Regions from separate parts of the Homo sapiens genome. Here all the other regions are linked to region 1. The links are contacts of gene promoters, found by promoter capture Hi-C in human tissues and cell types (Jung and others, 2019). All regions are on one chromosome and are shown on one strand. The core of a region is centred on a gene start or on the middle of the fragment in contact, and the rest is flanking DNA. Distances in the headings are between cores, read along the strand shown.

Evidence for each region. The method cuts DNA at HindIII sites, captures the fragments that hold promoters and counts their contacts. A contact is called where the count stands out against the background at its distance.
Region 2: a contact is called between the fragment with the promoter of TIMM13 here and the fragment with the promoter of TLE6 in region 1, in 1 of the 25 tissues and cell types used here (aorta).
Region 3: a contact is called between the fragment with the promoter of GIPC3 here and the fragment with the promoter of TLE6 in region 1, in 3 of the 25 tissues and cell types used here (bladder, dorsolateral prefrontal cortex and pancreas).

What each region holds. Positions count from the first base shown.
Region 1 is chr19:2,976,111-2,979,665 of GRCh38, reverse strand. TLE6 (TLE family member 6, subcortical maternal complex member) reads right to left here and starts at 2,102. Exons shown (of 17, transcript NM_001143986.2): 1 at 2,056-2,102; 2 at 1,382-1,468. The coding sequence starts at 1,432. RefSeq lists a silencer at 2,071-2,380. The HindIII fragment of the contact is 31,192 bases long and covers 1-3,555 here.
Region 2 is chr19:2,426,336-2,430,008 of GRCh38, reverse strand. TIMM13 (translocase of inner mitochondrial membrane 13) reads left to right here and starts at 2,423. Exons shown (of 3, transcript NM_012458.4): 1 at 2,423-2,595; 2 at 2,685-2,753; 3 at 2,963-3,673. The coding sequence starts at 2,476. The coding sequence ends at 3,061. LMNB2 (lamin B2) reads left to right here. Exons shown (of 12, transcript NM_032737.4): 12 at 1-1,843. RefSeq lists enhancers at 1,953-2,102, 2,187-2,932, 2,933-3,673 and a silencer at 2,653-2,742. The HindIII fragment of the contact is 21,330 bases long and covers 1-3,673 here.
Region 3 is chr19:3,583,250-3,587,129 of GRCh38, reverse strand. GIPC3 (GIPC PDZ domain containing family member 3) reads right to left here and starts at 1,652. Exons shown (of 6, transcript NM_133261.3): 1 at 1,308-1,652; 2 at 450-635; 3 at 136-316. The coding sequence starts at 1,532. The HindIII fragment of the contact is 10,668 bases long and covers 1-3,880 here.

The sequences.
Region 1 (3,555 bases), core at 853-3,352:
CCCGGCCTCTCTTATTTCAGTAAAGAGCATCTTCCATTTTGCACTTTGGCCTAAAGTCTAAAATGTTCACCACATTCTTGTGATGAAAATAGAAGCACAAAATATTTTTAAAAATAAAAGTCCGGGCAAGGTGGCTCATGCCTGTAATCCCAGCACTTTGGGAGGCCGAGGTGAGCAGAACACCTGAGGTCAGGAGTTTGAGACAACCCTGGGCAACTCAGCAAAACCCCGTCTCTACTGAAAATACAAAAATTAGCCGGGCGTGGTGGCGCGCACCTGTAATCCCAGCTACTCGGGAGGCTGAGGCAGGAGAATCACTTGAACCTGGGAGGTGGAGGTTGCAGTGAGCCGAGATCGCGCCACTGCACTCCAGCCTGGGCAACAAGAGCAAGACTCAATAAAATAAAGTCTCTTGGCCAAGTGTGGTGGCTCACACCTATAACCCCAGCACTTTGGGAGGCTGAGGCAGGCAGATCACGAGGTCAGGAGCTCGAGACCAGCCTGGCCAACATGGTGAAACCCAGTCTCTACTAAAAATACAAGAAAAATTTGGTGGTCATGGTGGCAGGTGCTTGTAGTCCCAGCTACTCGGGAGGCGAGGCAGGAGAATCACTTGAACCCGGGAGGCAGAGGTTGCAGTGAGCTGAGATTGCGCCATTGCATTCCAGCCGAGGTGAGTGTGAGACTCCGTCTCAAACATAATAAAATCATAAAGTCTCAAAACAAAATATCCCTCATCTGACTCCTTTACAAAAAAAAACGTCTGCTCAGCCCTGAGAGCCTAAATTTACAAATGGTCATCTCTGGGACGCAAAGTGCAGGGAGCGGGGATTGCTTGTAAAACATCAACCAAATACATGATGTGTTCCTGTGTTTTTATCACATATGTGATTAGATGCTACATTTTTTTTTAGATGGGATCTCACTGTCACCAAGGATGGAGTGCAGTGGCACCATCATAGTTCACTGCAGCCTCAAACTCCTTGGGCTCAAGCCAACCCTCTGCCTCAGCCTCCCAAGTAGCTGCAACTACAGGCCCACGTCACTAGGCCCAGCTGATTCTTCTAGTTTTATTTTTTACAGAGACAGGGTCTCACTACGTTGTCCAGGCTGGTTTCAAACTCCTGGGCTCAAGTGGTCCTCCTGCCTCGGCCTCCAAAAATGTTGAGATTACAGTTGTGAGCCACAGTGTCCAGCCTACACTTAATTTTTTTTAAAAAACACGGCTCCTTGGCACCTGTCTTGAGTGTAGCAGCGACCAGTATTGTCTTCAGCTGCGAGGCCTGGGCGGGGCCAGCCCAGGTCACAGGTGGAAAAGGGGCAGAACCACATTGGGCCCGGGTTTCCCTTGAGGGCTGATCCCACCACATGCCCTCCTCACCGAAGTGCTTTTCGGGGGGCCCTTGGGTCTGGGCTGGTCCCTAGAGGTCATCTTCAAGGCAGTAGCCTCCAAGACTTTAGCCAGAGTCTAAAACAACAAGGAGACGGCAGGTCTTGAGGGACAGAAAATAAGGCAGTGCCAGGGAAGCAAGGCACCCGTTACCCCACCCGCACCTCCCAGTTTGGTAAGTCTCCAGGGACCCAATCCTGCGGTTCTCCCATGCGTTCCCTAGGTCCTGTCCTCACTTATCAATGCCTCCAGCTGCCCAGATTCATGGGGGCGGGGACCCAGAAAGAACTGAGCCTTGCCTCCCAGGCCTCACCCTAGGAGGCTGGGGTGGATAGTGCACATACACTCCCTGCTGGGGGCAGTCAGGGACGGGGGAGCCCAGGGAAGGTCGCCAAAGCTCAACCTTAGTTTTGAGACAATTTCCTAAAGCGCAGGGAGATCACTAGAAAGGGGTTTTGAAGGATGACTAGGAGTTAGCCAGGTGCATTAGGCGGAATTCATCAGACAGAAGAAACGACCTCTCTCCACCTCCATCCCTGCTGCAGCACCCAGCTTCTTCCTTGCCTCAGTCCTGCCCCTCCACGCCCCTGCAGCCCCTTCCCCGGCCGGGAATCCTGGAGTCCCCCCAGCCCCCTAGAACACGCCTGGCAACTCACGTCCCTCACCGGGCGGAAGCTGCGGAGGTCAGCCAAGTTCAGGCCAAGAGGAAACTCCTCCTTCCCCCACCGGGGGCCATTTGACCCATCGGGCCCCGCCTCGTCCCGCCTTGTCCCCGCCCCGTCCCGCCCAGGCCCCACCCAGCCGCCACCTGGACCGCGAAGCAGATCAATGAAGGCGCAGTAGCTGCACGTGGGTTCGGGCTCCGGGGGGGGCAGGCCTCTGGCGGCGCCGGCCAATAGCGAGGCCGTTTACGCACGTGGGTCGCGTACGCCCTCCCTGATTGGTCGGCTCTCCCCGGCCGCCGGCCATGCTGTCACTCAGCGAGCCGGGAGCCTCTGCTTTACCCTTTCGGTCCCGCTGCCGGGAAGGGCGGACTTGCAGAGCTATAGGCAATTTGGGGTCCCAGCGGGGGCGGGGATATTTAGGAGGGCGTGGGGCTTGAGGCTCAGAGGCTGGAACTTGGGCAGGGATAGGTGGCGAGTAGTTGCATTGTTTTACGCATTTTTAGCCTTGTCCGGAAGTGGCTTATGGCTGGAGGTGAGGAGTGGGAGGTGGGTGGGTTCAATCTTTAGCGCTGTCACCCCAATTCTTAGATACGGGCTAATTACATTTTCCTCAATATTAAATAACGTGCAATGCAAACGAAGCTTCAAGTCCTCTTTCTGGAGCCAACTTACTGGGTCCCCTTGATGGTCCCAGCCCCGGGCTATGCATTTATCACCGAATTTTCCCAACTGCTCTTCCAGCCCAGTGACAAAGGCTCTGAGAGCAGAAAGCGGGACAGCAGAGGCCCTGAGGCTGATACAGTATTGCCGGATGCAAGCGCGGGGTGGGAGAGAGTGGTGGGTATTCCAGACGGAGGGAATAGCGGAACCTCTCAGGCAGAGCTGGGCTGGTTACAGGAGCAGCCAGGGAGGCTAACGGGGCTGCGTGCACTCCGAACAGGCCTGGGATGATTTCCGAGAGGTAAGTGGGTTGCTGCAGAGCGAGAGAAACCTGCTGTGTGGGGTCGTGGGGATAGGAGTAAGGGGATTTCGGAGTTTTGTTTTGGCCTATTCAAAATATGAAGCCAAGTCACCATGGCTCACACCTGTGATCCCAGCATTTTGGAAGGCTGAGGTGGGAGGATTGCTTGAGGCCAGGAGTTGGAGACCAGCCTGGGCAACACAGTGACACCGCGTCTCTACAAAAAATTTAAAAATTAGCCAAGTGTGGTGGTCATGCACCTGTAGTCTCAGCTACTGGGGAGGCTGAGGCAGGAGGATGGCGTAAGCCCAGGAGGTTGAGTCTGGAGTGAGCTATGATCGTGCCACTGCACTCCAGTCTGAGCAACAGAGCAAGACTCCATCTCAAAAAAATATATAGCTATAATATATATAAAGTATATATATTATATATATAGTGGTCAAGCTGCAGTTCTGGAGTGAGAGCCCGTTTCTTTCTGTTTGGCCCAGGACCTGGTACTGGCATTAGCAGTTCACTCTGCCAGGGACAGTCTCTCTCAG
Region 2 (3,673 bases), core at 1,174-3,673, 550 kb after region 1:
TCTGCCCTGTGCCTATATATACACATGCGTCTATCCATACTGTGCTTTTATCTGTGATTTTCTCGCTGAAACCATGTTTCTCAGACAGGCCAAGGCCACCTGACTCCTATCACGACGCACCCAAGCCCCTCAGTCCAGCTTCCCAATGCCTGGCACCCCCCTTCGGCAATAGCTCACCGTTTACACCCTCCCTCATAGATACACAGAAGTTATTTTTTTAATGGATATTTATTTTTTTACATTGGTCAGTACACAGGTCAGGAGCTCACGCCAGGGCCTTGAGGACAGGCTGACCCTCCTCCCCGGGGTGGCGTGGGGCTGGGGCACCCTCCGACGGCAGAGCCTCCTTCAGAAAGTGCAGCTCAAGTCTTAAAGACACCAAAACTGAGCCATGGGCACGCGCCGTCTCCGGGCCATGGCGTTCACTGCAGGGCGGGGGCGGCACCGCTCCCCTGTGACTGCATCCCGCCTCCCTGGGGACCTGCCTGTGGCAGGAAGGAATGGGGGGCCCCAGCCCCAGGCCGGGAAGGAGCCAGCGGCCGACAAAGCAGAAACACCCGCTGCTCCACGTAGCCCCTGCTCGCTGTCCTTGCTCTCAGAAGTCCCGGTCCCATGTAGATAGAGGGGGGCGCATCTTACCAAAGCATTTCCTCCTGGAGGCTACGCCGCTGTGCTCCCAGTCAGGCGGCTGGTAGGGAGCTTTGCCTGCCCCGGGGATACCCTCTGCCAGCCGCTGGAAGTGGGAATGCTGGCGACAGACTGTGTCCTCTTTCCCACCTTCATAGCAGGAATCACCCGGACCCGACTGGCTGGGCTTCGTGCTAGCGAGGGTTCTGGGGGTGGGTCTTGGTGATCTTGTCCTATGGGGAGTCTGCAGTGGTCTCAGCCACATCCTATGTATTTTGGCTCTGGAGGAGCAAAGCTGTATCCTGGAGTTGGTCTGTGATTTGCCGACAGCCTTGCAGGCTGGGCTCAGGGACAAAGTCCCCCCCAAAACCCGCAGGTCCTCATGTCCAGACGCTGCCCAGTCCTGTCCTGAAAACAGCACGCCCCAGGCCCACAGAACCCCCCACCCTACATTTGCCTTGGGTGGAGCTGGGGGTGGTCCTAGGACTGCGGGTGCCCTTAGCTGAAGGGGGTGGGGAGAAGCGTGGACTGGGCAGCCTGTGGGTAATTGGAGGTTCATTGAGAATTGAGTCTTTGGAAACACTAAGAAAATCAAATTTTTAAAAGTTATTTATGGCCTGGGAAACAATTTGCATTTGTCCCCAAATACGCTTAGCTGTGTGCCGCTTAGAACGATGCGAAACCATCCCTCTGTGTAAGCCCGTGCCGTGTGACTCGAAGCCTAGCGCCCTCCCTGCGAAGCATCAGACGCCACCCAGCCCTGGGGGGAGGCCCACGCCTGCTGGACCAACGCGGGTTCTGGGGTGCACAGCGCCAGGTTAACGCTGAAGCCTGCCCCGCTGAGCCCAGGAGCCGGGAGGCCTGCGGGCTGACCCAGAATCCGATCATGCACCTGTCCTCATGCCAGCGGCTTTGGCTGGGGTTGGTCTGAAGCCTGCACGCGGCAGTTCTTTGTTAAAGATCTGAGGGACTCCTCAGTCCTGGGGCGTCGCCGCCTGCAGCCTCTTCCAAGCCCTGCGTCCAGCGAGCGTCACAGCACAACCTGCAAAAACGGAGCTGGGCTGCAGCTGGGGCTGGCATGGACTTTCATTTCAGAGATTCGGTTTTTAAGAAGATGCATGCCTAATGTGTTCTTTTTTTTTTCCAATGATTTGTAATATACATTTTATGACTGGAAACTTTTTTGTACAACACTCCAATAAACATTTTGATTTTAGGTTCTGCCTCTGAGTTTATTCCTGAGGGGAAGCTCGAGCCGGGGCCTCTGCCCTAATGAAGCGGATGTCTAAGAAAGATCCCTCCACCCCCAAGGAAAAAGGTCACTGGCTAGTGTAGCTAGTGTAAACAGGACCCAGGCGATGCATGGGACCCTGCCCTTTTTTTTCTAGTGAGCCTCCGACGCTGTTGCACAAGCTGACTCTTCGTCACGTGATGCGACCGGGCTCCGCCCCGGCGGCAACACGCTGTATAGACGCGCCGGGTGCCTCGTGCGCATGCGCGGCAGGCCCTTCGGGACGAGCTGGAGGCAGAGCGTGAGTACAAAGTGATCGGCCTCGGCCGCACGTAGTAGCCCCCCTACTCCCCGGCCAAGTCAGGGCCTCCCTCTTCCCGCGGAGTCGCAACCACGGGTAGCTCGTGTAGGTAACGGCAGGTCCAGGCCTCCGCATGAGCGGAGGGCCCCCCGCGCGACCTTGAATGGCCCGGGCGCGCGCGGTCGTGTGGGAGTTGTAGTCCTCCGTCCCCGTCCGCGCGGACTCCGTTTCCCGTGGTGCCCCGGGCGGCCCGCTTCCGGCGCAGTTAGTTACGAGTCGGCGCACGCGGCCTCGGTCCGGTTGACTTTGCGGAGCCATGGAGGGCGGCTTCGGCTCCGATTTCGGGGGCTCCGGCAGCGGGAAGCTGGACCCAGGGCTCATAATGGAGCAGGTGAAAGTGCAGATCGCCGTGGCCAACGCGCAGGAGCTGCTGCAGGTGCGGGGCTGGCCGGGGACGGGCGCTGGGGGCGACAGGGCCACCCCTGGGGGCCGACGTCGCGGCTAAAGCCTCGCGTGTCTCCACAGAGGATGACGGACAAGTGTTTCCGGAAGTGTATAGGGAAACCTGGGGGCTCCCTGGACAACTCCGAGCAGGTGAGACCCGCGGAGGTTCGGGGCAAGGGTCGCGAGGGCCTAGATTCGAGGGGGGAGGTGTCTGCGCGTGCGCAGACTAACGGGGAGGTGCGACGGAGTGGTCACTGCACGTGCGTAGTCTGCAGCCCGGGCGTCCTGGAGCCGGGGTCAGGGCGGTCCCCGGGGCCGCGAAGTCCCGAGCTGAGCCGTGCGCCCCTCCGCTCCCGCAGAAGTGCATCGCCATGTGCATGGACCGCTACATGGACGCCTGGAACACCGTGTCTCGCGCCTACAACTCGCGGCTGCAGCGGGAACGAGCCAACATGTGACCGGCGAGCGCGGGCCACCCCACCCTGTTCATTTCCATAAACGTGCTTTGAGAGGCGGGGTCCGCATGTACGTACTGCCTGCCCGGGGCTTAGGAGGGTGGCACCGGTGCTGGGACACACGGGACTGTGTCCTCGCCACCCCCCGCCCTGCCCCCTGCCAGCCAGTGCAGCTTGGATCTCGGGGGTGTGGGGCCCTGTGCCTTCCTGAAGTGCTGGCAGCCCAGTGGCACCTCCTTCAGGCCTTTGGGGTATTCCCCTAGTGTGCCCAAGTCAGCCTCATATTCTGGGCGGACAGCTTGTCTGGACTTCGGAGTTGGGGGTGGTCAGACACCACAGGAGCTGTCACCTCCTGCGGATGGGCAAATAAATTGGTGGAGGACGGAGAGAAACCTCTTTATTTCCCTCCTGAGGGGTCTCTGGGAAGAGGTGACGCGTGTCCCTGGAACCCCAGCTCGGAGGGTCTCAGCCTCCCCTGGGTTGGGAGAAGTCCATCTTTCCCCTTAGTGCCACCGGGCTGCTGAGTCACGAGGAATGTGTTGCTGCTGCCACCCCTGCCCCAAAGGCTAAGGGGGACAGCCTTCCCCTTGTCAGGGCTTGCTTTGACCCTGCTTC
Region 3 (3,880 bases), core at 403-2,902, 610 kb before region 1:
ACCCTGCCAGGAGCTCCTTGGCACGCAGCGGGTGCACCTAGAACCTTCCAGCCCGTCCCATCCCCGACCCTCCTCCACCCCAGGCATCCGTAGAACGCACTTCGGGAAGAGCTCCCGCCAGCCCACCCGCCTCACCGAAGGCCCTCTTGGGCTGCACCAGGCGCAGGGTGAAGGGCTGGGACTTGGGCAGCTCCCGGAGCATCTTGGCCACCTCGTAGTGGCGGCAGCCCACAATGGAGTGGTCGTTGATGGCTTCGATGCTGTCACCCACGCACACTGCCTCGATCCGGTTGATGATACTGCCTTCCTTGATTCTCTGCAGGGATCCAGCGTCGCTGGCAGGGCAACCCCAGCCACCCGCCTCCAATCCGCAGAACCCACGTCGACCCAGAGTGGGGGGGGCAGTTGCTGGACCCCAGGAAGCCACCCGCCCACCCCCTCCCGGGCACCTTGATGAAGGCGTAGCCAGCCCCGTTGTCCGTGATGGTCAGCCCCAGAGCATCCTCTGTCTTAGTGACCTCCACCTCCTTGGTCTCGCCTCGCACGTGGGCAAAGATGAAGTCCTCCAGGCCTATCTGACCCCCCAGGAGCTTCTGCATGTCCACTTTGTGGCTGTTGAGGGTGCAGAATAAAATCTTCCCGGGGGAGAAGGAGCCTAGAGTTAGCCAGGGCATGCATCCCCCCACGCAGCCACCCTGTCTGCGCAGGCCCCTGCCCCCAGCGACCAGGATCCCAGCCCATGGGAAAGGGCAGGGCGTGGGACCCCCAGAACAGAGAGAGGAGGGAGAAGGAGACTTCCAGCAGGTGGAGACCCCTCTCCATACCCCGGGACCTCCAGCCCCCAGACCTCCAGGTTTAATCTGCTGGCGCCCCCTGGGGGCTGCAAACCAAACGAACCCGGATTGGAAAAACGCCCAGGAACCCCCCAACCCCACGGCGGCCTCAAACTTCCCATCCCTAAGGGGGCCATCTGGAACCCCAGACCCCAGCTACGCCCAGGAAGCACAGAGGCGCTTCCCCGAGGGCTGGGGTCCGCTCCAAGCTAGGTCTGCGCAGAGGATTTTCTGGAATATCTAGGGGTCCGCTAGTCCTAAGACCTGCCCATCTTTTGCGCAGAGCGTGCAAAGGGGGCCCCTGGGAGTGTGGCACCCCGGGATCTGAGGGCTGGGTCTCTGAGATCCGGCGATTAGGCGGCCACCCCGACGTCTGGGATCCGGGGATCTGGGGTCTCCCGTCCAGGGTCCAAGCTCCCTACCCCTCACCCCATCAGGCGGGTGGTCTTGGGCGCCGGTGTCCGGGCTCCTTACCTCGGTGGGCGCGATCCCGAAGGCTTCGGCGATCTTGGCGTACAGCTCGCGGACGTTGGTGAAGCCCTCGATCTTGCCCGTGGGGCTCCCGTGCGCCAGCTGCGTGCGGAAGACGAGGCGCGGGCGGGCGCGGGGCGCGGCCGGGGGCTCCGAGGGCGCGGGCGGGGGCGCAGACGCGCGCGGGGTCTCGGTCCCCCGGGCCTCCCGGGCCGCTGCTCCCTCCATGGCGGGAGAAGTTCGGCCACCCACCCGGGCCCTCGCCGCCGCCGCCGGATCCGCCGCTTCCTGCAGCCTCCCCTCCCCCGGCCCAGGGCGCGACAGCCGAGACGCCCGGGTAAGGGGATCTGGGAACCCGAGCCTCCCGGGAAGGCGACACCGCGGGGTGCGCAGGGGTGGGTCGGGCCCCAGGTGTCCGGGCCCTGCCAGGGCCAGCTGTGCCCTCCCCGGGGATACCCGCAGTCCGGGGGGGCCTGAGCTCAGGACCCTGGAAGAACAGGGACCACAAATAAGGACAGGGACAGGCCTGGAGCGGTGGCTCACGTCTGTAATTCCAGCACTTTGGGAGGCCGAAGCGGGCAGATGACCTGAGGTCAGGAGTTCAAGACTAGCCTGGCCAACATGGTGAAACCCCGTCTCTACCAAAAATACAAAAATCAGCCGGACGTGGTGGCGGGCGCCTGTAATCCCAGCTACTCGGGAGGCTGAGATCTCTTGAACCCGGGAGGCGGAGGTGGCAGTGAGCTGAGATGGCGCCATTACACTCCAGCCTGGGCAACAAAGCGAGACTCCGTCGCAAAAAAAAAAAAAAAAAAAAAAAAAAGGACAGGGACAGCTGAGGGTGCTGGAGCACTCACCCTCTGCTAGGCGAGGTCATTGTTTTATTTTATTTTATTATTTTTATTTATTTATTTATTTTGAGCTGGAGTCTCGCTCTGTCACCCAGTTTGGAGTTCAGTGGCACGATCTCAGCTCACTGCAACCTCTGCCCACCAGGTTCAAGCAATTCTCATGCCTCGGCCTCCCCAGTAGCTGGGATTACAGGCATATACCACCATGCCCGGCTAATTTTTTTGTATTTTTAATAGAGATGAGGTTTCACCATGTTGGCCAGGATGGTCTTGAACTCCTGACCTCAGGAATCCACCCACCTTAGCCTCCAAAAAAGCTGGGATTACAGGCATGAGCCACCACGCCCAGCCTTTGGTTTGTTTGTTTGATTTTGGAGACGGAGTCTAGCTCTGTCGCCCAGGCTGGAGTGCAATGGCGTGATCTCGGCTCACTGCAACCTCCACCTCCTGGGTTCAAGCGATTCTCCTGCCTCAGCCCCCCTAGTAGCTGGGATTATAGGCGCACACCACCATGCCTGGCTAATTTTTGTATTTTTTAGTAGAGACAGGGTTTCACCATGTTGGTCAGGCTTGTCTCGAACCCCTGACCTCAGGTGATCCACCTGCCTTGGCCTCCCAAAGTGCTGGGATTACAGGCGTGAACCACCGCACCCGGCCGCATTCAGTTTTTTAAAATTTAATTTAGAAACATGATTAATTTTTTGTACAGTTGGGATCTCACTGTGTTGCCCAGGCTGGTCTCAAACTCAAGACCAGGAGGTTCAGGCCATCCTTCAGCCTTGGCCTCCCAAAGTGCTAGGATTACAGATGTGAGCCACTGTGCCCAGCTTCTCTTCAGCATTTAAAGCTACCATCTGACATATCAGATATTTTATTTTATTTTATTTTTTGAGACGGAGTCTCTCTCTCTTGCCAAGGCTGGAGTGCAGTGGCACGATCTCGGCTCACTGCAACCTCTGCCTCCCGGGTTCAAGCGATTCTTCTGCCTCAGCCTCCTGATTAGTTGGGATTACAGGCACCTGCCACCATGCCCAGCTAATTTTTTTTGTATTTTTAGTAGAGACGGGGGTTTCACCATGTTGGCCAGGATGGTCTCGAACTCCTGACCTCAAGGAATCCTCCCGCCTCAGCCTCCCAAAATGTTGGGATTACAGGCTTGAGCCCCAGCCCCCTGCTGATATTTCATTTCATCTTTTGTCCTGTTTGTCCCCAGGACTGGAGGAATGTCAGCTCCAGGAGGGTGGGGGCTGTTCCCCTGCTCTGTCCCCATGCCCAGTGTCCAGGGCACAGTGCCTGGCATACAGCAGGTGCCCAGTGATCTTTGGTGAGGAATGAACGGATGTCCAGGTCACAGATGAAGGAGGAGACCCCAGGCACCAGGAGGCGTTGGTAAAAATCCGCTGGAGTGCAATGTCAGAAACACCTACGTATCCATCAGATTCCTACCCAGGAATGTCGGCTCAATAAACAGCCATCCTGCCTGCAGTGGCGGGCCCTACAGCAGAGCCAGTCACAGCCTCCGCCCAGGAGGAGCCTCACAAACTGAACATGGGGAGAGAAAAGAAAGTGGCAGGAGGGTTTGGACGAGGTAAGAAATTTTATGTAAGGCCGGGCACGGTGGCTCATGCCTGTAATCCAGCACTTTGGGAGGCTGAGGCAGGCGGATTGCTTGAGGTCAGGAGTTCGAGACCAGCCTGGACAACGCAGTGAAACCCCATCTCTACT